3 separate regions of the Homo sapiens genome follow, and regions 1 and 3 are each linked to region 2. The links are contacts of gene promoters, found by promoter capture Hi-C in human tissues and cell types (Jung and others, 2019). All regions are on one chromosome and are shown on one strand. The core of a region is centred on a gene start or on the middle of the fragment in contact, and the rest is flanking DNA. Distances in the headings are between cores, read along the strand shown. Region 1 overlaps MEI1 (meiotic double-stranded break formation protein 1). Region 2 holds the start of MEI1 (meiotic double-stranded break formation protein 1). Region 3 overlaps MEI1 (meiotic double-stranded break formation protein 1).

Region 1 (3,511 bases), core at 771-3,270, 71 kb before region 2:
GATATACAAATGTCACTGTGTTACATTTGTCTACAATATTCAGTACAGTAACATGCTGTACAGGTTTGTAGCCTAGGAGTAACAGGTCATCCCATATACCTAGGTGTGTAGTAGGCTAGACCATCTAGATGTCTGTAAGTATACTCCATGATGTTGGTATGACAAAATCACCTAACACTGTGTTTCTAAAAATGTATCCCCATCATTAAGCAATGCATGACTGTATTGTCACTACTATCCCTGGACAGACTTAGATTGGTCTAGACCCATAATTCAATGGGTCATAATTTATAAGTACCTACTATGTGTGAAGAACTGACCCCGAATATTTCATCTGGTGAAGAAAACCTAGTATCTTAGTTCTGTCCCCTGCTACTCTCCTTGGTATCTAATTTGTTGTTCAATTTGCCTTCTTGAGTGGAAGGAAAAAAAGTGGAGTTAAAGCCAGCCACTAGGCAGTTTACCTTATCTAATCTAATTAGCCCATCTAATTCCTGATGGGAATTTCAGTAACGTACTTCACCAAAAAGTATTGACAGCCTGGGCAACCTGGTGAAACCCCATCTCTTAAAAAAAAAAGTAAAAAATTAGTTGGGTGTGGTGGCGTGCACCTGTAGTCCCAGCTACTCGGGAGGCTGAGGCAGGAGAATTGCGTGAACCCGGGAGGTGGAGGTTGCAGTGAGCCCAGATCATGCCACGGCACTGCACCCTGGGCAACAGTGTGAGACTGTGTCTCCAGAAAAAAAAGTACTGGGGCATCTGACAATTCTAGGTATGCCTGAGCAAGTAATGTACATATAATATTATCATGTAAGTCATGGCAAAAAAGAGGAGGAGTCCCTCTGCCATCAGAAATGTCCATCTACATGCCCCATGGGCTTCCTTTAACATTAAACCTGTGTCAGCAGAATCTGCTTGAGAGATGACAGGGAGGTGAGAGGGGATGGTGACTAAGATCTGCATTTCATAGTGTCATCCCCTGGGGGGAAGAGAGGCACACATCTCTCAGTTGGTAGACTTCCATTAGACTTAGGAAAGAGTATGGATTTACAGAAACTAGGCACCTACAAGTAGAAGAGACCACCACCCCTCCAACTCACATGCAGACAGTGATAAGTCTGGAGGTGGGCTGAAGCAGATGTGGGTGCCTCCTGACCTCAGTAAACCGGCTCTCAGAGAGAGAAGGCCCACGATTTCTGAATGTAGAAATGAATGAGTGGTTGCCTACCAGCAAGATGAGCAGGATGCTGGGGATGCTTCTGAGCAACTGGAACAGGACTACTAAGCTGGCAGGAAGGGCGGGCTGCCCAGCAGAGGTGACATCATCCAGTTCCTCATAGCTGCTCTCTTCCCAGAAGAACCAAAGTTCCAGGACACGGTGCCCATACCTACTCATGAGCTCTGGATACAACAGAAAGAACCTGAGCAGGAGCGGATGGTGAGTATAGACTAGCTGCAGGTCTGGGATGCCTTCTAGGAATTTTCTGATTGCACTGACCATAGTCTGGAGGCAAAACAAAGAAAGGAGGTAAATACACCTTGCAGAGGACCCAAGAGACCCCAACATGGCCAAGAGATGACTAGGAAAAATGTACTGTCATCTCAGTATTCCAGGACACCTTGGCTAGCTCATCCCAAGGCACTTTAGTGAGAAAATACCACTGTACTTACCTTATAACAGAAGTTATCAACTAGGGGTGATTTTGTCCCCATGGGACATTTGGTAAAGTCTGGAGACATTTTTTACTATCTTGATTGGGGGAATGCTATTGGGATCTAGTAGGGAGAGAGTGGGGATGCTGCTAAATATCCTACAAAGCTTATCACACAAGAATGATCTGGTGCAAAATATTAATAGTGCCGAGGTCAAGAAACCCAGCTTGATGATGGTACCACAGTGGGTTGTAATTGTCAGTGTGCATGTCTACTTCCCACACTAGACTGAAAGCTGCTTGAGGGTAGGGACTGTGGCAGATTAATCTGTGCACTTAGCATAGGGCCTGGCACAGAAGGGGTGAAGGGGAGATATGTTGAATAATTTCTTTTTTTTTTTCTGAGACAGAGTTTCGCTCCTGTTGCCCAGGCTGGAGTGCAATGGCATGATCTCGGCTCACCGCAACCTCTGCCTCCCGGGTTCAAGTGATTCTCCTGCCTCAGCCTCCTGAGTAGCTGGGATTACAGGCATGTGCCACCATGCCCGGCTAATTTTGTATTTTTAGTAGAGACGGAGTTCCTCCATGTTGGTCAGGCTGGTTTCAAACCCCTGACCTCAGGTGATCTGCCCGCCTTGGCCTCCTAAAGTGCTGGGATTACAGGTGTGAGCCACCGTGCCCGGCCTTGTTGAATAATTTCTTACTCCTCACAAACCTACCTCTTCCCATTGCATTCCCATAACAATGTTCAAATTTCTTAGTATGAGGCTGGGCGTGGGGGCTCATGCCTGTAATCCCAGCACTTTGGGAGGCTGAGGTGGGCGGATCACCTGAGGTCGGGAGTTTGAGACCAGCCTGGCCAACATGGAGAAACTCCGTCTCTACTAAAAATAAAAAATTTGCCGGGCATAATGGCACATGCCTGTAATCCCAGCTACTTGGGAGGCTGAGGCAGGAGACTCACTTGAACCCGGGAGGCAGAGGTTGTGGTGAGCCAAGATCACGCCATTGCACTCTAGCCTGGGTAACAAGAGTGAAACTCCATCTCAAAAAAAAAAAAATTCCTTAATATGCTATTATATGGGTTTTACAGTTTTGGCTCATTTAGGTCTTTCACTCATTGTGAGTTCATTTTTGTGTATGATATGAGTTAAGAGTCCAACTTCATTCTTTTGCATGTGTATATCTAGTTGTTCCTGAAAATTTTCTGAAAAGACAAATCTTCCCCCATTGAATTATCTTGGCATCCTCATCAAAAATTGACCATAAATGTATGGGTTTACTTCTGGACTCTCAATTCTATTTCATTGATCTATATGTCTACTCCTATGTCAGTACCACACTATCCTGATTACTATAGTTTTTTGCTAAGTTCCAAAATAAAAAAGGTATGAGTCTTCCAACTTTGTTCTTTTTTTTCAAGATTGTTTTGACTATTTTGCATTTCCATATGAATTTTAGGTTCAGCTTATTCATTTTTGCAAAAAAGTACAATTGGGATTTTGATACAGATTGCATTGAATCTACCGATCAATTTGGAGAGCACTGCCATCTTAAACTATTAAGTCTTCCAATTCATGAATGCAGTCTGTTAATTTAGATTTTTAATTAAGAAAAAAACTAGAGAAAAACAGTAATGTTTTGAAATTTTCACTATATAAGTTGATATGATTTGGATTTGTGTCCCCGCCCAAATCTCATGTCCAAATTATAATCCTCAGTGTTGGAGGAGGAGCCTGGTGGGAGGTGACTGGATCATGGGGGTGGACCTCCCCGTTGCTGTTCTTGTGATACTGAGTGAATTCTCATGAGCTCTGGTTGTTTTAAAGTTTGTAGCACCTCCCTTTTCACTCTCTTCC
Region 2 (3,770 bases), core at 264-2,763:
GTGAGCTGAGATTGCGCCATTGCACTCCAGCCTGGGCAACAAGAGTGAAACTCCATCTCAAAAAAAAAAAAAAAAAGAAAGAAAGAAATCAAAATATTTGAGAACGCAGCCAGGCACGGTGGCTCACAGATGCAATCCCAACACTTTGGACTTTGGGAGGTCAAGGCAGGAGAATTGCTTGAGACTAGGAGTTCAAGACCAGCCTGGGCAACACAGGGAGACCCCCGGGACCGTTTCTACAAAAAAAAAAAAAAAAAAAAAAAAAATTGAGAACTGCTGATCTAGCCAATCCACCCACTCACGAATTCCCCTCCCATGAATTGGAGAGAAACTTGACCTCCCAAAGTCTTCTTGGATGCCTCCATGGACAAGAAAACTCACTGCAGGTCGGGCACCGTGGCTCACGCCTATAATCCCAGCACTATGGGAAGCCGAGGCGGGTGGATCACCTGAGGTCAAGAGTTCGAGACCAGCCTGGCCAACATGATGAAACTCCGTCTCTACTAAAAATAGAGAAATTAGCCGAGCGTGGTGGCGGGAGCCTGTAATCCCAGCTACTGGGTAGGTTGAGGCAGGAGAATCGCTTGAACCCAGGAAACAGAGGTTGCAGTGAGCGGAGATGGCGCCATTGCACTCCGGCCTGGGTGTCAGAGCGAGACTCCGTCTCGAAACAAACAAAACCACTTCATTGCAAACGCGGTAGGCAATGAGGACCCAGGCAGCCCGCTTTGGCCAGCTCTGCCCAAGGAACAGTCTTCCCGTTCACCCCCACTTCTGCCCGGCTGTAACCTGTCACTCCTGTCCCCTCGGAGCCCAGACTGCCCCTCCTCCGATTCACACCCCGACAGCTGAAGGGAATGAGGAGCGGCCGCCGCATGCGCCCCTGGCCCGCAGGTGAGTGGAGGCTGAAATGGCGGGAGGCTGAAATGGCGGGAGCCTGAGCTAAGGCCGAATCCCCGGGAAATGGAGGCAGGGGCAGCAAAGGGAAGGAGCCAGAAGGCGGAAGGCGGGAAGGTGTGTCCCTGAGACTGGGTGAGGTCCCGGGGGATCCGGATTTCCGTCCTTTCAGGCGCAGAGCCAGTGGACCGGGCTCCACGGAGGCCCGCAGGCCGGCCTGGGGCTGAGGGGCCCGAGAGGCCGCTGCGGCCGGGTCCGGGACGGGCTGACAGGGAGGAGAGTGAACACAGCGCGGGGGCCCGGTTTCGCGTCGGGTTCACCGGAGCGGGTCTGGCAAGGGCCTGGCCGCGTTTGCTGAGGGAAATGGCCAAACCCAGGTCTTCTGAAGAAAAGGTTCCGCCCGCACCGACACGCCGGGGTCCGGCAGCAGCTCCAGCGCGCAGGCCAGGCACAGGCGGGGGGTCACGGGCAGCAGCCAGCGCGGGTCGTGCCGGTAATGGGCCCTCTCGAATAGAAGCGCCGCCTCTTCCTCTCTCCTGGGCCCGGGAGTGCCCGCCGTCGCCGCCTGCCTCACAGCCATCTCCTCGCTTGCCCTCAGCTGAGGCGGCACTCTTTCCCGCGCAGACTGCACGCATGCGCACTTGGAGGACGGACCTGCGTCGGTGTGGAATGCGCCTGCGCGGACCCAGGGCGCTGCAGTCTCAGACGAGCAGCAGCCACTGAGGGCAAGTGGTGGACGCAAGTGCTCTGGATCGTGTCTAGCTAAGCCAAAAGCGGTTTGTGCTTAGAACCCTGCAGGAATGTCTTTACCACATCCAAAGTTGAAAAGCAATTATAAAGTAGGGGGCATTTGCCTTGAAAAAGGAAGGAAAGGAAGCTATTTCTACTGTTTTTTAAAAATGAAGGCCGGGCATGGTGGCTCACGCCTGTAATCCCAGCACTTTGGGAAGCCGAGGTGGGCGGATCACGAGATCTGGAGATCAAGACCATCTTACCCAACATGGTGAAACCCCGTCTCTACTAAAATACAAAAAATTAGCTGGGTGTGGTGGCAAGTGCCTGTAATCCCAGCTACTTGGGAGGCTTGAGGCAGGGGAATCACTTGAACCTGGGAGGCGGAGGTTGCAGTGAGCTGAGATTGTGCCACTGCACTCCAGCCTGGCGACAGAGCAAGACTCTATCTCAAAAAAAAAAAAAAAAAGGAAAATAAGCGATCCCAAGGATTCGCATCTAAAAGCAATTAGAGGCTGGGTGAGTTGGCTCATGCCTGTAATCACAGCACTTTGGGAGGGAGGCTGAGGCAGGAGAATCACTTGAACCTGGGAGGTGGAGGTTGCAGTGAGCCAAGATCGCACCACTGCACTCCAGCCTGGGTGACAGAGGAAGACTCCATCTTAAAAATAAATAAATAAATCAGAAGCTTAAGACCAAAAAATAAAAGTAAAAAAACAAAACAAAACACCAAAGACAGAGAGAAAGAAGTTCAAGACCAGCCTGAGCAACAGGGCGAAACCCCTCCTCTACTAAAAATACAAAAATTAGCTGGGTGTGGTGGCTCATGACTGTAATCCCAGCTACTCGGGAGGCTGAGGCAGCAGAATCGCTTGAACCCAGGAGGCGGAGGTTACAGTGAGCGGAGATCAAGCCACTGAACTCCAGCTTGGGCCACAGACCTACACTCCATCTCAAAAAAAAAAAAAAAAGCGTCCCATGCAGAGGACCACCCCTCCCCATAAGCAGCTGAGGCTTTTGGAGTGTCCTGCCTCAATCAGGATTAGCTTGGAGACAGAGCAGGATAGAACCTCAGTGGACTCCACTGTGAGGAGCTGGGGGGCAGGTGTTTCGGAGAGGACACTGGGTTGACCCACATTCCCTAAACCACAACCACAGAGTGGAAGGGGCTTCTACCCCACCCACAAAGTATCCCAAACCCCGAAAGGGGGCACTTGGAAAATGTGCCAGAGAAATCAGAACACCACAGGGCCCAAATGACCAATTTATTAGAGGCTTTGCAGGGATCAGGACACTCTCAAAGCTTTTCTGATATGTCCTGAGGACTCTGGGCCTGAGTCTACTTTTTAAAGCCATTCTGGAAGAGAAAAAAATTCAGATGCTTCATAATACTAAACTTTTTGGAGGCTCGTGTATTCTGTGGAGCCCCATTTGGGTTCCCAGGTGCCTCCTGGCCCTGGGGACTCTCTGTCTTAGGAAGGGTGGCCCCAGTACAGCAGTGACCTTGCAGCTGAAGATCCCTCTGTGAAGCAGTGTGATCTCCGATGCTGTCCTCCCCTGCACGAGGATCACCCACTTTGGGAGGCAGAGTAGAATCAGGTTCCCTCAGGCTCAGGTTAGGGGCCAAGTGCTTGCGCTTGGCGAGCTGTGGGGACCAGGACATCTTGGCCAGAAGGGTCAGGCCCAGCTTTGCCACCGCAGAGTGGAGCCTCCCTTTGAAGCTGACAGGTTCTGCAGAATGGCAGGAAGGCTGCTGCCCAGCCCCTCTGCACCCTGTAGATTCCAGGCTTCCTCTTCTCCAGTATGTGAGCTGCTGGCATTTGAGTCTGGGGAGCTTAGAGGCCTCCCAGGATGTACATTCCTTCCTCCAGTGGGCGTGGTCTGCCCTAGAGAATGAAGTCCTCACTCTGCTGGGAGCCCTCTCTGCCAGCTGGGAGACCCTTGACCTGATCATTTTCCTGCCCCTACTGTTCTCACTGGGAGGCTCTCCGACCCTTTGTGGGCCACACCAGCTCCTGGACTCCGCTGCCGGCCTGGGGGTCCTGGGAGCTGGGAGCTTGGTCCTAGCAAGCGCTTCCTGGATCTCCTGTGGTTCTCTGGCGCCCCCTGGTGGCCTGACTCTCCTGGCCTTTTCAGGCTGG
Region 3 (3,754 bases), core at 1,015-3,514, 89 kb before region 2:
GAAGTTTTCAGACCAGGTGTGGTGGCTCACGCCTGTAATCCCAGCACTTCGGGGCTGAGGTGGGCGGATCACAAGGTCAGGAGTTCGAGACCAACCTGGCCAATATGGTGAAACCTTGTCTCTACTAAAAATACAAAATTAGCCAGACATGGTGGCGGGAGCCTGTAGTCCCAGCTGCTCAGGAGGGTGAGGCAGGAGAATCACTTGAACCCAGGAGGCAGAGGTTGTAAGTGAGCCGAGATCGCGCCATTGCACTCCAGCCTGGGTGACAGAGTGAGACTCTGTCTCAGAAAAAAAAAAGAAAAAAAGAAGTTCAGTGGAAGAAGATAATGTAAACCACTATCATATAATAAAATATGATAATGTGATACTCAATTCACAGCTGAATGAACCATTCTGGGAGCTCAAGGGAGAGGGATTTCCTCTATTGCTGGGTTACTGTGGAATAAATATTTGCTGAATGTATGAATCATTGAACAAATGAATGAAGAAATGAATAAAAAGCGAGTTTTAAGACCGGGTGCGGTGGCTCACACCTGTAATCCCAGAACTTTGGGATGCCAAGGCAGGCAGATCACTTGAGGCCAGGAGTTTTGAGACCAACCTGGCCAACATGGCGAAACCCTGTCTCTACTAAACATACAAAAAATTAGCCAGGTATGGTGGCAAGTGCCTGTAATCCCAGCTACTTGGTAGGCTGAGGCACGAGAATCTCTTGCAACTGGAAGGCAGAGGTTGCAGTGAGCCAAGATCACGCCACTGCACTCCAGCCTGGACAACAGAATGAGAGTCTGTCTCAAAAAACAAAACAAAAAAACAAACAAACTAGTTTTAAACAACAAACTGGTTGAAGGGAATGAAGGAGGCTTAGCTATAGCCATGAGGTCCTGGGCAGTGACAGAGGGGACATTGTGGCTGAACAAAGAAGGCCAGGAAATTTCTCGAGAGTGTGACAGTGAGAGAAAAGAGGAAAAGCCTACTTGGTCCTGTTCACTAGGCAATTATAGGGCAGTCACTGTGAGGCTAAGACAGGCTCCTCAGCAATACCCTCCCATAAGCAGGGTAGGCCCAGCACCTTCTACAGGGGGAGTCATGAGCTTCTCAGGTTGGGTTCCCCTTCCCAGGGACTGTTGAGGACAGACAGTCAAAAACTACCAGAGAGACAAATACAGGATTCCACTTACATGAGGTCCCTACAGTAGTCAAATTCATAGAGATAGCAAGTAAAATGGTAGATGCCAGGGGCTGGGGGAGGGGACTGGGGAATTGTTTAATGGGTACAGAGTTTCAGTTTGGGAAGATGAAAAGATCTAGAGATGGATGATGGTGAAAGTTGCACAACAATGTGAATGTACTTAATGCCACTGACCCATATACTTAAAATGATTAAAATACTAAATTGTATGTTATATATAGTTTACTACAATTAAAACAAGGCCAGGTGCAGTGACTCACACCTGTAATCCTAGCACTTTGTGAGGCCAAAGCCAGAGGATTGCTTGAGCCCAGGAGGTCAAGACCAGCCTGGACAACATAGTGAGATATCATCTCTACGAAAGTATTTTATTTTTTATTTATTTATTTTTTGAGATGGAGTCTTGCTCTGTCACCCAGGCTGGAGTGCACTGGCATGATCTTGGCTCACTGCAACCTCCACCTCCCGGGTTCAAGTGATTCTCCTGCCTTGGCCTCCCAAGTAGCTGGGATTACAGGTGCGCGCCACCACGCCCGGCTAATTTTTTTGTATTTTTAGTAGAGATGAGGTTTCACCCTGTTGGCCAGGCTGGCCTCAAATTCCTGACAAGTGATCCGCCCGTCTTGGCTCCCAAAGTGCTGAGATTACAGGCATGAGCCACTGCGCCTGGCCTTACTACCAATACAAAAGTATTTTAAAATTAGCTGGGCATGGTGGTGTATACCCGTAGTCCCAGCTATTCAGGAGGTTGAGATGGGAGGATCACTTAAGCTCAGCAGGTTAAGGTGGCAGTGAGCCATGATCATGCCACTGTACTCTAGCTTGGGCGACAGCAAGACCCTATCTCAAAAATAAAAATAAACAGTTGCCAGAGGCAGAGTTGAATGTCACAGGCCAGGGAGACACCTAGGCTCTTGGGCATGAGAGGCGAATGGTGAAAGTGCTATACAATACTTCACTGGTGGCTGGGCACGTTGGCTCACACCTGTAATCCCAGCACTTTGGGAGGCCGAGGTGGGCAGATCACCTAAGGTTGGGAGTTTGAGACCAGCCTGGCCAACATGGTGAAACCCTGTCTCTACTAAAAATACAAAAATTAGCCAGGCATGGTGGCACACACCTGTAATCCCAACTACTCAGGAAGCTGAGGCAGAAGAATCGCTTAAACCCAGGAGGTGGAGGTTGCAGTGAGCTGGGATCATACCACTGCACTGCAGCCTGGGTGACAGAGCAAGACTATGTCTCAAAAAAAACAAAACAAAACCCACAAACCTCACTGGCACCCCACCCTAGTGTTTAGGCTATTGGTTTGAAGAAGGCTTTTTCATCACTCAAGGCCCAGTTCAAATGCTACCTCTCCTGTGCAGCCTTCCAATACAGGTTGAGGCTGGGCACGCCTGTAATCCCAGCACTTTGGGATGCCGAGGCAGGTGGATCACTTGAGGTCACGAGTTCGAGACCAGCCTGGCCAACATGGTGAAACCTCATGTCTACTAAAAATACAAAATTAGCCAGGCATTGTGGTGCGTACCTGTAGTCCCAGGTACTTGGGAGGCTGAGGCAGGAGAATCACTTAACTCAGGAGGCAGAGGTTGCAGTGAGCTGGGATTGCACCACTGCACTCCAGCCTGGGTGACAGAGCGAGACTCCATCTCAAAAACAAACAAAAAAACAAATACTGGTTGAGTATCTGTAATTAAAAATTTGAAATCTGAAATATCCCCATATCCAAAACTTTTGAGCACCAACATGATGCTCAAAGCAGATGCTCATTGGGCATTTCGGATTTTGGACTTTTGTATTAGGAATGCTCAACTGCTAATAGGTCATTTTGGTATTAGATGTAGTTATTTGTGTTTCCTATAATCTGTGAGTGCCTAAATGGCTGGGATCATGTAATGTTAATTTCTGTGGTTTTCATCCATTCAACAAACATTCCCAGATGCCAACTTTGTGCCAAGCTCTGTGCTGGGTATTGGGAAATCATTCCCCCCACACCTCCTGTTCTGAATCTTAAAACAGGAACATCAGCGCTTTTAGAAACATTAGGGAGAAAGCATTTCCCTAACTGGCCCTCCTCACCCAAGGAAGGTTTTATCTAGCAGGCAAGATACTAGCTTAAGATCTACTGTGCCATCAGGGCAGGATTAAGGTATTAAAGATTATGCTCCCATGAACTTAAACTCTTAAGATCCTGGCCAGCTGGCTAAGTGTCCATAATGCAAACACAGTTTTTCCCGCCTGTGGACCCCTGGTCTGGCAAGAAGGAGGGTGTTTTAAAAAGCTCATTTTGGACAGATATGATTAAGCAAGTATAATAAAATGTTATTAGTAGAATCTAGGTGTTGGGTGTATGAATGTTCACTGTAAAACTCTCTCATTGCTGTATGTTTGAAAAACTGCAGGAAAAAAAAAGCCCATTCTGTTCCAGAGTCCCAGCCAATATTCTACTATGATGTTTACCAGCAATAAAGCTTATGTTTTGGTTCTCATCTGATTCCTGCATTCTAAATTAGCTTTAAACCCACAAGGGGAAGGACACACAAAGATTAACCAGAC

The links. The method cuts DNA at HindIII sites, captures the fragments that hold promoters and counts their contacts. A contact is called where the count stands out against the background at its distance.
Region 1: a contact is called between a fragment that was not itself captured here and the fragment with the promoter of MEI1 in region 2, in 2 of the 25 tissues and cell types used here (mesenchymal stem cells and spleen).
Region 3: a fragment that was not itself captured here is called in contact with the fragment with the promoter of MEI1 in region 2 in 8 of the 25 tissues and cell types used here (H1 embryonic stem cells, dorsolateral prefrontal cortex, liver and 5 more).

What each region holds. Positions count from the first base shown.
Region 1 is chr22:41,768,679-41,772,189 of GRCh38, reverse strand. It overlaps MEI1 (meiotic double-stranded break formation protein 1), which reads right to left. Exons shown (of 31, transcript NM_152513.4): 20 at 1,229-1,504. Among named protein-coding and RNA genes, the nearest start is that of CCDC134, 30 kb to the left of the region's middle. The HindIII fragment of the contact is 6,757 bases long and covers 1-3,511 here.
Region 2 is chr22:41,697,246-41,701,015 of GRCh38, reverse strand. MEI1 (meiotic double-stranded break formation protein 1) reads right to left here and starts at 1,513. Exons shown (of 31, transcript NM_152513.4): 1 at 1,304-1,513. The coding sequence starts at 1,477. It also overlaps the pseudogene C22orf46P. RefSeq lists a silencer at 1,441-1,540 and an enhancer at 3,754-3,770. The HindIII fragment of the contact is 9,130 bases long and covers 1-2,625 here.
Region 3 is chr22:41,787,145-41,790,898 of GRCh38, reverse strand. All of the region lies in intron 26 of MEI1 (meiotic double-stranded break formation protein 1), which reads right to left. Among named protein-coding and RNA genes, the nearest start is that of CCDC134, 12 kb to the left of the region's middle. The HindIII fragment of the contact is 8,169 bases long and covers 1-3,754 here.